Linked DNA regions of Homo sapiens: regions 1 and 3 are each linked to region 2. Evidence: promoter capture Hi-C in 16 types of primary human blood cells and fetal thymus (Javierre and others, 2016). All regions are on one chromosome and are shown on one strand. The core of a region is centred on a gene start or on the middle of the fragment in contact, and the rest is flanking DNA. Distances in the headings are between cores, read along the strand shown. Region 1 overlaps MARCHF3 (membrane associated ring-CH-type finger 3). Region 2 holds the start of MARCHF3 (membrane associated ring-CH-type finger 3). Region 3 overlaps MARCHF3 (membrane associated ring-CH-type finger 3).

Region 1 (2,739 bases), core at 155-2,654, 92 kb after region 2:
GATGAAAATGTGGCCAGTGGTCCACAGGAACCTAATCCTGCATTTTCTCTAAGAGCAATGGTTCAGTATTCACTAATTCAGTAATCAGCAATGTATAGAACATAACTACTGTAAATAACAAGAACTGACTCTGTTTAAATTTCCTTTCTATTCAAGTCTTAGATTCAGGGTTTAAGTACTTTTATTCCTGATGAATCTCTGGTGTTAAGATTACAACTAAACATTTACAAAGTTCTGGTAATAATTTCTTCCAGTCCTTCTCAGATACTATGGTTCTGTGTTTTATGTACTAATACTGTGTTCCAAAAGGAATCATAGTGAAGGCTGATCACCCAGAACAGCCCACATAAGAAGGTGTAAGGGATAAGAAAGAAATGAAGAACAGGTAGTAGCCACGGTGTTAGTAAGTGTTCTCCCAGCCCAGCCGCTCCTGGACCTTTTGTCAACCCTCGCCAAACAACTTATAACACTTTAGGGAACCTTTCCTTTCAAATGAAAGGGCATGAAGAGGGGGATTATGTAGGTGAGATGTTGAGCCTAACCTTTTCATATCTAGGGAAGGCATACTCAAGGGGGTGGGGTTGTCAATGAATAAATAATACTAGCATTTAAGTTGAGTTCACCTGTTATAATCAACCCTAGCATAAGATTATGTTTGTTGCAGAATCAATGCTAACAGGAATCTGTACATGTGCTGTTATTATACAATATCCAAGAAGGGAGAAACCTCTGGCAATCTTTCTAAGATTTTCTAAGGAAAAGAGCCATTTGCAACTTTAGTGACCAATGTATCCACAGAATTCATTTTCATTTAGTGACGGGACAAGCTTAGACCTCTTCCTCCACTCCCCAAATACCTGATTTTAATAGCAAAAGGAAATCACTATATGGTTTTTCTTGTTATGTATATAAGAAATAAGGAAAATTATTTATTTTGGCTTCTGTGAAACTGAGGAAACATTACATTTTCTTCATTGTAATGCACATGTGAAGTGATTTTCCTCAAACCAGATTCTAATTTTCTGTAATTCAGCAGCACAGCTCCCAGAAGTTTCCTGCCTACAAATGCTATGGGGGAAAAATTAAATCATTGCACAAGTTAGGAAGTGAATGAGTTGTGATGCCTAGAAAAATGCATGATGACTCACAAATATGAAGAGAAATTGTATCCACAGTGTGAGACTTGGGAAATACTAAGGATTTGGCTCTAAGGGTTTTTTTGTAAAATTTTTTTTTTTTTTGCTTTTTTTGCTTTTTTTGCCCTACATGTTAACTCCTAGCTTTTAAAAACAACAACAACAAAGTTCTCTAGAATCAGATCAACAGGCCAGGCACAGTGGCTCACACTTGTAATCCCAGCACTCTGGGAGGCCGAGGTGGGCAGATCACATGAGGCCAGGAATTTGAGACCAGCTTGGCCAACATGGTGAAACTCTGTCTCTACTGAAATTACAAAAATTAGCCAGGTGTGGTGGCACACATCTGTAATCCCAGCTACTCGGGAGGCTGAGGCATCAGAATCGCTTGAACCTGGGAGGCAGAGATTGCAATGAGCCAAGATTGAGCCTCTGTACCCCAGCCTGGGCGGCAGAGCAAGACTGTCTCAAAAAAAAAAAAAAAAAAAAAAGAATCAGATCAACAGAGCTGAGAATTATGTTCTATTCTCCCCTAAGTTAATAAAATGTGGATTGCAAAAATCCGAGGTGCTCATCAATGTCAGTGATAGCTGCTGCAACTATGTATTGTAAAATTTAGTCATGAAATTCTGCAGCTACTACACATGGTCTTGCCCAAGCATTAAATACCAGGATTCTCCTTGTTTCAAAATTTGAGTCTTATCAAAAGAGCAGATACTTTCCTTTATGCCTTCACTCCTACTCAGTGTTATTAGGAAACTCAGGAGTTTTTTTGTGGAATATGCTTGTCATAACTGCAGAAATCACCTTCTTTGTTAACTCTAATCTTGGGGGAAGAAAGCTTTTCGATTCTGTAAAAGAATTAAAAAGAATTTCCCTACTCTTTCTTCTCACCCCACTCTCACCCCAAAAACAACAACCAAGGTCACCTTGCATAGTATATCCATTTAGTCAGTATTAAATAATAATAGTGGTAGCAATTCATAGAAATTTGGGTCAGAAATCGAGTTAATCAGGTTCTTCCACTAACTTATGGTGCTAAGAAAATCATAAAATCCCTTTGTTTTAGTTTCCTCATTTATAAAACAGGTGACTACACCCACCAATTCTCATAAGGCCCCATGGTCTAAATATACAATTGCTGTCTGGACAATTTGGATATATAAATTCCAAAGAGGAATGATAAATGATGCTTTATAAAATTTGGCAGATTATTGCTGCTGGCTCCTGTTTATAATTTGTCTTCTCTAGCAAGAATATGACTTCTGTAAAGTATATGGATTTTTAATTTAAATTGGCATCTTTCTTGTTAAAAAGAAAAAAAAAGGTAACCAGATGTTAATTTAGACACATTGTAGATGTATGAGGAAAAAAGAGTATATCCTGTCTGGGTCATTGTCTGTCTACTGTTGACATCTGTGACTGCCCCCAAGTGGGGCAAAGGACCACTGAAGGGTTCAGGCATGAACTTGGTGGTGGTGACCACTGATGACCGTTTGTTACATTGCTGCAGTGCTCTGTAGCTGGGGACATTTGTGAATTTGTCACTTCATTTTATTCTGACAAAGCCTGGTATAGCTCACAGAAGCTGATTTAGTTTTTA
Region 2 (2,700 bases), core at 138-2,637:
TGAAGTGGGCTTGCGCTGGAAGCAAGACGTAAGTGGTGAAGGTGAGTATCAGGGCAGCAGGTTGACCCCTTTCTTGTTATGAGCATGCATTCCTTCATTCTTACTAATACGGGTTAGGTGCCTACCCATGGCAAGAGCAGTTCTAGGCAGGGAGAGGCCCCTACCCACCCACAGCTGACGGTCTAGGGCTTGTTTACATTCTAGGTTTCAGCGGGAAAGCAAGAACACCCAACTCCCTGCTTTTGATTCTATGTTAGTAGCTCAGCGCGCCTGTGCGAGCACGTGCTGCAGCCAGGGTAGGGGCTCAGAAACTGGTTGACAAGATGAGCAGTGGGGTCCTAGGGGGTTGGGCGGGAAGGGCCCACAAGGCCATATTCCAGGCTGTTCGGCTGCGAGTGACCCCTGAGAGGTCGGGATCTCCGAGCTCGTCCGATGTCTCCATCCCAGCCAGGAGCTTGCGAAGGGGAAGGAGGGCGGAAGCAGAGTGGGACAGATGTGGTTCGTTCTGGGGCTTCCTGTCCACGAAGATGGATAATTCTAGCGACCCGCCTGGGATTTTGGAATCCTGGCGGACCCAAAAGACAGCAGAAGTCACCGCAGAGGATGCCACCCCGCACGGCAGCCCGCCCAGAGCGACGGTCTCACAGGTTCCGGCGCCGTCGAGCGCCCAAGCCTCCTGTTGGCCGCCAGCTGTGTCCGCGACGCGCTGGGTCGGGAGGAGGAGACCCGAGGCGCCGGTAAGTCCCCCGCTGCAGGTGGCCCGGAGGGCAGGGGTGAGGACGGGGACGTGTACTGAACTTTGGGAGGTTTGCGGGGCTGGAGTTTTGTTTCAGAGATAGCCAGATCGAGATCAGAACGTTTTCCAGAGAGCCCAGGTTTCCACTTGTGGCTGGGCGACCCGGTCCGGAATTCATCCTTTCTCGGCCCTCAGCTTCCTCCGGGCGGGGTTCCGATGGGGCAGCTAAGTTCCGCGCCTCCTGCCGGTGCCAGATACTGGCGTGTCGACCCGCGCTGCGGTTGGCTTCTTGCTCCACAGCGCTATGCGCGCGGCGGCTCCGAGGGCTCCTGGTCTCTCTCAGCCAACGGCCTTCTGGGGCCGCCGCCTCCCTCTAGAGCTGCTCGGGTCCCATTGCAGAGAGTCCCGCAGCGCCCGCCGGCAGCCACGGCACTTCGCAATAACCAACTTCCCCGCCGCCGGCGCGTCCCGCCAGCCTGCCCTCGGCCGCAGGCGACTGGACGGCGGTTACGGGGCGGTCCCAGCGCCACCACGACTGGCTGTCGGCTCCGCCAGTCATGGGCTGATGACGCCCCGGGGCTGGCTCCGCCCCTAGCGGCAGCCCCGCCTCCCCTCCAGAGCCTGGTCGGCTTAGCCCTGCTTTCCGCCTCACTCGTTGAGCAGGTCCGTGAATTGTCAGCGCGCTGTGGGCGACTGTGTGGCCGCGGCGGCCGCCAGGCTTGCCGCACTCCCCCTGAGGTGCCCGCCGGAACCAATGTGCCCTGGTCCACTGGGCCGTGAGCAGCCACCGACTGGGGGCAACTTGGCACTTAGAACCGCAGCAGGGACGTCGGTTTGCTATCGGGACTCGGCGAGGACGGTGAGTGGCCGCGCGCCGGGCTAGCGGCTCCTCTCGGCGCGGTTCGGCGGCGGCGAGAGGGGACGGGACGCGTCCTGGCGCTCGGCGGTCCGTTCGTCCGAGCGTGACCGCTGTGGGGAGGTCAGGGCTGGGCGGGATTTACTCCGTGCCAATATCCCCACTCCCGAACTTCTTCTTGTCAAAGCATCCCAACTCCGCCCGGGACGCGGTTCCAGTCCGCACCAACTTGGCGTAATTGACATGGGTAGGTGGGGCCGGGACGCGTCCCCTGCCCCTCTGCGGCAACGACATGGAGCGCTGGGGCGGCCTCCGCGCCCGCGGCGTGCGGACCGCGGTTCCTGAAAAATTACCCGCGCTGTGCGGTACGGTAAGACCCGGCGTCCGCGTCTGGATCTCAAGGCTGAGCGAGCGCTCATCGGGCTCAAGGTGGGTCTCAGCGCCAGAGAACTGGAGTACCAGCCGGGTTCTGTAGCGGGGGCTTCAGTGCTCTGCAGCTACTGAGAGGAATTGAGAGCACTGCTGGGCTTTGAACTTTCTAAAGTAATTGCTTTCTATTAGCACTTGAATCCATGACCCTCCTGAGGTGCTCGGACCTCCACATCCACCCGCAAGGGGTGTCCGAAGGACTTCGTTAGGACCAGGCGGGAGCTGCTGTCGGTTCTGGTGCCCAGTGCCTTGGAGAATCCTAGAGGCTGCGAAAGGGATTGCCAGCCTGGTCGGTTGGTGTTTGTTTGAGCACCTGCGTGTTTAAGTGATGAAGTTGAGTCAGGAATTGACAGCAGAGAACTCAAGGTTAAACCTGACACTCCGTTTGTGACTCGGTCTGGGTTAGATTGTTTTCCCCCCTTAATGGTAAGGGGGTAAAAGCAGCTTGTTTTTCTGAGACCAACTACATGCATGTAGTTTATATTATGTGCGGAATAAACAGAATTCAATACGATATTTTCTTACAATTCTTATTTGACATGAATAAGAGCTTTTGAAAATACTAGACAGAAACAGGTCCAGAATTTGGGGATGTTTAGACCTTTGAAAATACATGAAAATGTTGAGATATATAGTTCTGTATGTGTATATGAAGATGTAGATGCGCATATACACACAT
Region 3 (2,700 bases), core at 20-2,519, 74 kb after region 2:
AAGCACCTTATTAAAATCAAGTAACCTTATTAAAATGTAAAACAAGACAAAGATATTCCCTGTCATCATGATCATTCAGTATTATTCTGGAAGCTACTGCCCATCTAAGAAACAGAAAGCAGAGAAAAGGAGGAGAAAGATAGCCATGATTTGTATGTTATATTTCTGTTTACCTAGAAACTTAAAAGAATCAACACAAAGTAATAAATAAAAATTTGATAATAAAAATCTGTATACAAAATAAAACTAAAATCAATAGCTTTCCCGTGTATGGGCAATAAGTAGTTATAACATGTAATGGGAAATGTCCCATTTACAAGAGTATAAAATATTCAGTAATAAATCTATATTTGGAAAACTAAAATACTGAGCAAAATAAAAGAAAATTTGAATAAATACTATGTTCCTAGATGAGAAAACTAAATATTTGCAAGACACAATTCTTTCTATATTATTGTTCAGCTTAAATACATTTTTAACAAGGTAACAATTTTAGATGATGATTTTAAAAATATCAGGAAGGATAAACAACAGAAATGATGAGTAAAATCTGAGCACAGTAATGTTGGGAATCTTCCTCTACCAGTTATTAAAAATGAATTATAAGTCTATAATAATTTTTAAATGTGATGTTTTACAAAAATAGATTAATGAAGCAGAATCTAGGAACAGATTCAAGTATGTATAAGAATTTACTACAGATAAAGATGACATATAAATAAAGAAGTTATCAAAAATAAGATTGATCCAATTGAGAAACCATTGGGAGAAAATGAAAGTTACTTTTTAACATCATGCAATACACCAAAATAAATTACAAATGGATTGAAGGTTTTATGAAATCATAAAGCTATAGAAAAATCTAGGATGAGTATTTATCTGCACTTGGAAGTACAGGAATGATGGAAGAGACTGCAGAAAAAATGATTGATAGGTTTAACTTCTAAAGCTTATGTGTCAAATAGCCTGTAAACAAAATTAGAAGACAAATAACTGAATGTTTTTAAAGTTAAACATATGTGACAAAAGGTTACTATCTTTAATATATACATGGAATTCTTAAGCACCACTAATAAAAAGGCAAAAAATATAACTCAATAGGAAAGTAAGGAAAAGACATGAATAGACAAATAAAAAAGACTAAATACTATGGCCAAGAAACGTGATAAAGTTTTAAAGGAATATTTATTACTTAATGTATATTTACTAAAATGTTTATGTCAAAAAAAACTCTAATAAAAGAATACCATTCTTAGCCGGGCACAGTGGCACCATGGCATGTGCCCATAGTCCCAGCTACTCAGGAGGCTGAGGTGGGAGGATCACCTGAAGCCAGCAGGTCCAGGCCAACCTGGGCAACATAGTGAGACCCCATATTTTAAAAAGAAAGAAACACCGTTCTTAACCTGCCAATTCAAAGAGATGTTTTAAATGATAAAACCTAGTCATGACAAAGATTTGGTGAAATGGGCAGTTTCGTTCAACTACTGATGAAAGTAAAATGTTCACAGAAAATGGAAACTTTTAGTGAGGAAGGCATTAGTGGAAAGTGGATTGGGATGCAGGTTAAGATCTGAGTTCAAGCTTTCTGGGTTTTTTTTTGTTATTGTTTGTTTTTTTGTTTTTGTTGTTGTTTTTTTGGTTTTTTTTTTTTTTTTTTTTTTTTTTGGAGACAGAGCCTCACTCTGTTGCCCAGGCTGGAGTACAGTGGCGCAATCTTGGCTCACTGCAACTTCCACCTCCCAGGTTCAAGTGATTCCCCTGCCTCAGCCTCCCAAGTAGCTGGGATTACAGGTGCCCGCCACCACACCTGGCTAATTTTGTTTTTTTGTATTTTTAGTAGAGACAGAGTTTCACTGTATTTTCAGGCTGGTCTCGAACTCCTGGGCTCAAGCTATTTGCATTCCTTGGCCTCCCAAAGTGCTGAGATTACAGGCGTGAGCCACCATGCCTGGACCTAGTTCAAGCTTTCTAATTGTCTTGCTGTGTAAACCTGAATGGGAAATATAAGATCTCTGCATCTTTGTTTCTTCATTTATAAACAAAGAGGCTTGGTTTAAAAATATCTTCAGGGTAACTGAAGACAAAAGAAATCGTTAGGTTGCGGTACAGATGGACAATTTGAGGACTAGAAGAAAACTGTTTAAAAACAGGTTCTGACAAAAATCTGAGACCTATTCATTTTAACAGTGTAGAAACTCCGAAAACAATCTCCAAAATGTATGTGGGAATTTGGCATAGAGTAGACAAGGCATTAAAAATAAGTGGGAAAAGAAAGGATTATTTAATAAGTGATTTAGTTCTCTTCATGAAAAAGAAAGGTAGATTAATGTCTCATCCCATACAAATGGATAATTTTAAATGTATTAAGGGCCTGAGTGAAAAATAAAACTTTAAAATTATTAGAAAGAAATGCAGGCAAATATCTTTATGACTGTGGGGAAGAGATTATTTCTCAGTCGGTACACAAAAAAGGACAATTCATAAAGGAAAGATTACACTAAGAAGTAAAACTATTTTATGCAAAAGCCTCTATGAGTAAAGCTAAAAGACAAACTCTGAACTGGAAAAATATTTTTTCAACACATAAAGCAGAAAAAAACGTTTCAGACTATATAGTCAGAGAATCCTTACAAATCAGTATAAAAAAGACGGACAACTTACTACAGAAATGGGTTGCAAAGGATACCCTCAGGCAAT

What was found. Contacts are between HindIII fragments. The CHiCAGO score rates a contact against its expected background, and 5 or more counts as called.
Region 1: a fragment that was not itself captured here is called in contact with the fragment with the promoter of MARCHF3 in region 2 in 10 of 17 cell types (total B cells, naive B cells, erythroblasts and 7 more); the score reaches 17.3 in total B cells.
Region 3: a contact is called between a fragment that was not itself captured here and the fragment with the promoter of MARCHF3 in region 2, in 6 of 17 cell types (total B cells, naive B cells, erythroblasts and 3 more). The highest score is 12.3, in total B cells.

Annotation. Positions count from the first base shown.
Region 1 is chr5:126,937,054-126,939,792 of GRCh38, reverse strand. The region is part of intron 1 of MARCHF3 (membrane associated ring-CH-type finger 3); the gene reads left to right. Among named protein-coding and RNA genes, the nearest start is that of MARCHF3, 92 kb to the left of the region's middle. The HindIII fragment of the contact is 1,150 bases long and covers 830-1,979 here.
Region 2 is chr5:127,029,245-127,031,944 of GRCh38, reverse strand. It overlaps MARCHF3 (membrane associated ring-CH-type finger 3), which reads left to right and starts at 1,387. Exons shown (of 5, transcript NM_178450.5): 1 at 1,387-1,595. LOC105379163 (a long non-coding RNA gene) reads right to left here and starts at 602. Exons shown (of 2, transcript XR_007058920.1): 1 at 1-602. RefSeq lists an enhancer at 505-1,049 and a silencer at 1,046-1,425. The HindIII fragment of the contact is 7,560 bases long and covers 1-2,700 here.
Region 3 is chr5:126,955,614-126,958,313 of GRCh38, reverse strand. The region is part of intron 1 of MARCHF3 (membrane associated ring-CH-type finger 3); the gene reads left to right. Among named protein-coding and RNA genes, the nearest start is that of MARCHF3, 74 kb to the left of the region's middle. The HindIII fragment of the contact is 635 bases long and covers 952-1,586 here.